Regions from separate parts of the Homo sapiens genome. Here region 1 is linked to region 2. Evidence: promoter capture Hi-C in 16 types of primary human blood cells and fetal thymus (Javierre and others, 2016). All regions are on one chromosome and are shown on one strand. Each heading gives the region's core, a stretch centred on a gene start or on the middle of the fragment in contact. The rest is flanking DNA. Distances are from core to core; before and after follow the strand shown. Region 1 holds the start of FASN (fatty acid synthase). Region 2 holds the start of CYBC1 (cytochrome b-245 chaperone 1).

The links. Contacts are between HindIII fragments. The CHiCAGO score rates a contact against its expected background, and 5 or more counts as called.
Region 1: a contact is called between the fragment with the promoter of FASN here and the fragment with the promoter of CYBC1 in region 2, in 5 of 17 cell types (non-activated CD4 T cells, activated CD4 T cells, fetal thymus and 2 more). The highest score is 9.0, in non-activated CD4 T cells.

What each region holds. Positions count from the first base shown.
Region 1 is chr17:82,096,812-82,099,511 of GRCh38, forward strand. FASN (fatty acid synthase) reads right to left here and starts at 1,425. Exons shown (of 43, transcript NM_004104.5): 1 at 1,310-1,425. RefSeq lists an enhancer at 1-649 and silencers at 518-567, 628-837, 858-1,047, 1,118-2,597. The HindIII fragment of the contact is 59,862 bases long and covers 1-2,700 here.
Region 2 is chr17:82,449,490-82,452,189 of GRCh38, forward strand. It overlaps CYBC1 (cytochrome b-245 chaperone 1), which reads right to left and starts at 1,263. Exons shown (of 7, transcript NM_001033046.4): 1 at 1,211-1,263. RefSeq lists an enhancer at 74-333 and a silencer at 964-1,323. The HindIII fragment of the contact is 1,869 bases long and covers 144-2,012 here.

The sequences.
Region 1 (2,700 bases), core at 175-2,674, 350 kb before region 2:
TGGAGCTTGTCCCAGGCCATCCCTAGGGCACCAGGGGGCTCACAGTGAGGAGCAGGCAGGGTCACCTGAGATGGGGACAAGGCCTCAGGTGGCCAGCCTGCTAAGGGCCATCAAAGAAATGGAGAGGCAGGGTCCCAAAGCCGGGGCATGGAGGTGGCTGGGAGCCCTAGAGGGGGGTACTCAGCACCCATGCTCACCCGTGTTGGGGTGGGGGCCCGCTGTCCAGGCCAGCCCAAGAGCCACCAGGGCTGGGGAGGGACGAAATGGGGATAGCCTATGCTCTGGGGGAAAGGTGGCCCCTGCCCCACTGTGGACCGACCCAGCCAGTCCAACCCCTCCAGCAGGGTCCAACCTGGAGAACCACTCCTGGCCAGGACACGCAGGTGTTGCCTGGCACCCTTCACCTGCGCGGGTGAACCCACAGACGCTTGCCTCCCCATACCAACCCACACACCACAGGAGGCCCTCCCTGGAGCCCAGGTCCCTAAGACCCGGAACGGGTGCCCAGGCCGCCGGCTCCTCCTCCAGCATGAGGGCTGGTGCGGCCCTGGGGGGAGGGGGCGGAGGCCAGCGCTGGTCTGGCCACTTGCACGAGGCCCCAGGGCCTGATACGCGCGCCGCCCCTCGGCAGTGCGGCCTCCCTTGGGCCGTCCCGGCAGGGAGGCGGCCGCCTTCCCACCCGCTGCGATTCACAGAGGCTTGGCTGCCCCGGGCCAGCTCCAGGCCCGCACGCTGGGTCCTCGCCGCTTGCTATTCACGCGGGGTCGACGGCCAGGCAGGGGGTGGGAACACCGCGGCGCGCCCGGCCTCCCTTCGCCCCGGGCGGGGGCTGCTCGGGACCCCTGCGCTTCGGCCGGGCTGCGCCACGTGATGGGGAGGCCGGTCCCGGCGCGGCCCCTGCGCCCCCCCGTTCCTCCCTCGCGGCGTCCCCTTCGGGCTGGGCCTCGGCTCCGGGGCGGCTCCGGGAGGAGGATGCGGCGGCGCCTTTGTGGGCGCGGGGAGGCCGAGCCGGGGGCTCCTCCAGGCCCTTCAGGGTCCGCGGCCTCCCCCACGGGAAGCGAAGGCGGCTGTTGGTGGCTTTCCCCGGCGTCCTTCCCCCGCCATCCGCCCACCTACTCCGCGGGGCCCCGGGCGCCTCCGAAGGGGCACGAACACCGAGACCCGGACAGGCCGCCCAGGCGACCCCTGGATACGGGGCCGGGCCACGCGCGCCCCGAGAGCGGAGGATGAGGAGCCGGGCCACCCCGGGAACCCCGGGCCCAGCCCCGACCACGACCCGCGCCCCGGCCCCAGCGCCGGCTGCTCGTACCTGGTGAGGGCGCGGGCGGCGGTGCGGGCGGCGGAGAGCGAGGCTGGAGCGCGGCGGAGCGGGAGGCTGAAGCGCGGCGGAGAGGGAGGCCGGGGCCGCTGCCGTCTCTCTGGCTCCCTCTAGGCCGGCGCCGACGCTATTTAAACCGCGGCCATCCCCGGGCGGCCACGCCACATGGGCTGACAGCTTGGCTGCGCCGCCCAGGCCAATGAGCGTCGGGGCTGCGCCCCGGGACCCGGCGCGCCGCCGCCGGTGGGGTGATGCTCGTGCGCGCCGCCGCCCGAGCCGGGACCCTGCGCGGGAACGCGCCTGGGGGGGTGGGGCTGGGACTGAGGAGCGCCGGGGGCGGGGCGGGCGGGAAACCACCGCCCCCCGACTTCCGCCTCCCGCCCCGCGGGCCCCGACGCGCACGCGGCTGCGACCGAGCCCGCGGCGCGCCTCCCGAGCCATCCCCGACCCCCGTGTCCGCCGGGGCCACGTGTGCGGGATGGGAATGCTTGGGCCACACTGGGGACTACCCCGTGGCCACACCGGGGGTCCAGCCGGCTGCGGCGGGGCGCTCGGACCCACAGGCGCGCGGAAGGACGGACGGACCCGCGTGCCCGCACTTCGGCCGCCGACTCCACGCCGCCGTCGCTGCCCGCGCGGAGCTGGCTGAGGGCGCGGCGTTGCGCGGCGCGGCGGCAGCAGCAACCAATCGGGCGCCAGGGGTGTTCGCACCGGCCCAATGGCGGCGCGCGGGTGGGCGTTGCTAGGCGATAGGGTGATGGGCGGGCGGCGGGGCGGTCCCGGATGCCTCGCGGGCCGCGGCGCAAGTGCGGGCGTTGACCCCGGCCGCGGGCGCCCCGGCCGGGGTTACTGCCGGTCATCGCAGCGCATCCCCGGTTTTCCTCGCGGGTGCGGCGGGGAACCCAGACCCGAGACGGACGTCCACCCACCCGACGGCCCCTCCTTAGCAGCTTCCCGGGGACCCGGACGAGGCGCAGGGCCGAACGGGCGAGCGCACTCCAGGCCGCTGGAGCTCGGCGGAGGGGAGGGGCGCGGCCACGTGGCGAGCGGAGTCGGCCGGGACACCCACCTGGTGTGGTGCGGACAAAGGGAGCCGCTGCCCCACTTCCCAGGGCGGAGGCTGCGAGTTTTCCAGGCGCGCACCCACGGGCGGGGGCTCAGCCCGGCCCTCGCGCGCTCCCTCCCTCCCGAGTGATTCCTCGAATCGTGGCCCCTTGGGCGGCCTGAGCCCTGAAGCGCGGCCTCCCTTTTCTGACCGCTTCGCGCTTGCGGGGCCAGGCACCCCATGGGGGGCAAGCGGGCCTTGTGAGGCCACAGGTGTCTCTGGCTGCGTGTCCTACTTTGAGGGCTCAGCAAGCCCGGGCCGCTGAAGGGGAACCGGA
Region 2 (2,700 bases), core at 13-2,512:
GAAGGCCCTTTTCCGTTCACAGCGACACCGACTGCGCGGGGGCTGTTTCCCGCTCAGACTCACGAGCTACAGCTGCATCACCACCTGCCCCGTCCTGTCTGGAAACCTTATGTCCTGAGGCCGCTAGCCCCCAGCAGCCTTTAAGCTTCTAGCATCTGTGGGCACCCCCTCTCCCCTGTGCTGGCCTCCACCAAGAAAGGAACTGAAAGTCCCATCATGGCTTCCGGCCGTACTGGCTCTCGCACTGGCATGGACCAACGATCTCAGCTCTCTCTCTGCCCTCCTCCACCTGCTGAAAGTTCAGACTGCACAGTAGAGGGTCCCAAAGCGGCCAGAACCGACGAGTCACCAAAGGGGCTAATCTTCCACAGCGGAGTTCCGCACGGGCGCAGCAGCCCTGCCACTTCACCGTACGCTCCCAACACTGGCCCCAGGGACCCCGTTCTGGTAGTTTCTCAGGGCTTTCCCTGTGAAGTCAAATCAAATTTCTGACATTAAGTAGGGGGTTCAGGCTGGGCGCGGTGGCTCAGGCCTGTAATCTCAGCACTTTGGGAGGACGAGGCGTGCGGATTGTTTGAGTCACGGAGTTCAAGACCAGCCAGGGCAACGTGGCGAAACCCCGTCTCCACAGAAAATACATAAAACAGCCCGGTGTGGTGGTGTACGCCTGTGGTCCTAGTTATTCAGGAGGCTGAGCTGGGAGGATCACCTGAGGCCGGGAGGTGGAGGCTGCAGTGAGCAGAAATCGTGCCACTGGACTCCAGCCTGGGTGACAGAGTGAGACCGTGTCTCAAAAAAATAAAAAATAGTGGGTTCAAATCACACAAACCAATCCTAGATGCTGGTATATGACTGGGCTCCCTCCCGGGCCTCAGTTGCCTCATTGCTCCCGAAACACCCGGCATTCCACATCCAAATGCACACACACACGCACACTCGCGGACACAAGCACACGCGCGCTGGCAAAGCCGCCCGCGCCGCTAGTCGCACCGAGCGCTCGTTTCTTTGTCCGGATCGGGGGCGCTCCCGCCGCCGGGGCCAACCTGCAGCGGAACAGGCGCGAGGCCGCCCGCGACGGGCACGGCGGGACACGGAACAGCCGGCAGGCGGGCCCAGGACGCAGACCCCTCCCGGAGTGGGCCTAAGGGTGCCGGGACGCGCGGCACGGAGCGGGAAGGAAGTGCGGAGCCCACCCAGCCCAGCCGCCTACCGAGAGCACAGCGGTCCCCGCGCCGCAGCAGAGAGACGCGAACCGGCGGGGGCGGGGCCGCGCGCACTTCCGGGATTGGAGCGGAGCCGAGCCGACTTTCGGGGGCGGGGCCGCGCGCGCTTCCGGGATTGGGGGCGGGGCCGCGCGCGCTTACGGGATTGGGGCGGGGCCGCAAGCATTTCCTGGATGGGGCGGAGCCGAGCGGATTTCCGGGATCCGGGCGGAGCCGCAGGAGGAGGCGGGTGGTTCCTGCTAAAGAAGCCAGTTTTCTTGAAAAAAAGAAACGTGCGGGGAAACGTATCCGACAGCAAAGAACTTACCAAGGACTATGAACGTCTTGCTAACATAGAAGCGAAACTGAAGCGGTTCTCATTGCCAAAAAAGAAGATTTGAGCATGAATAAGAACAGGAATTCGAGTGAATTTAAAATCCTCAGATGCTCCAGTCTGTAATTCATAATAATGTATTTTTTAACTCTGTTCACCTTTGGAGGATGCTGGTAAGCTCACCCCAGTTTGTGGCCTGGTTAATAAAAGGAAAGCATCAAGCATTTGTCCTGCCTTTATGAAATTTACAGCAGAGTAACCAAATACTGCATGAGAAGAATTTCTCATTATAGAAGTTTTCCCGCTAATAAATGAAGAAGAAACAGTAGGATTAAAACATCACCCTATGAATTAACGGACCTAGGCAATGTCATCAATGACTGCTAATTAACATCGCAAAAAGGTCAGTTAGATATCAGAAGTACACAACACTATGAAGTAGTCTTGCCAGAAAAAATTTAACCTGAATGTGAACAAGCTTCTAGAGTGAATTACTGGAAATGTGGAAGACAAGACTGTACTAAAGGATTCTACAAGGATACAGTCAGCAATTCGAAACCTCAACCATCTGAATGGACCCTTCCGCTTGGCCAAGAGCATTCCCAAGTTATCCTGAAAAACTAGCTCAGGCAGTGATGGGAAGGGGGAGACAGACATACCTCACTCCCTCCTCCCTTTTGGAATTCAGGCACACAGCTGACCAGCATTCACATTAAAACAGATCTTGAGGTGGCCAGGTGCGGTGGCTCACGCCTGTAATCCCAGCACTTTGGGAGGCCAAGGTGGGCAGATCACGAGGTCAGGAGATTGAGACCATCCTGGCTAACACAGTGAAACCTCATCTCTACTAAAAACACAAAAAAATTAGCTGGGCGTGGTGGCGGGTGCTCATAGTCCCAGCTACTCGGGAGGCTGAGGCAGGAGAATGGCGTGAACCCGGGAGGCAGAGCTTGCAGTGAGCCGAGATCGTGCCACTGCTCTCCAGCCTGGGCAACAGAGTGAGACTCCATCTCAATAAAAAATAACAAAACAAAACAAAAACAGATCTTGAAGTTGACAAAGTAGACTCTGTAGCAATGACGCCAAATTCCAGCCTGACTCTGGTATAGGACTACATGACAGATAGGAAGCCTTGGAAGAAATGGAAGTACTTTACCCCACATT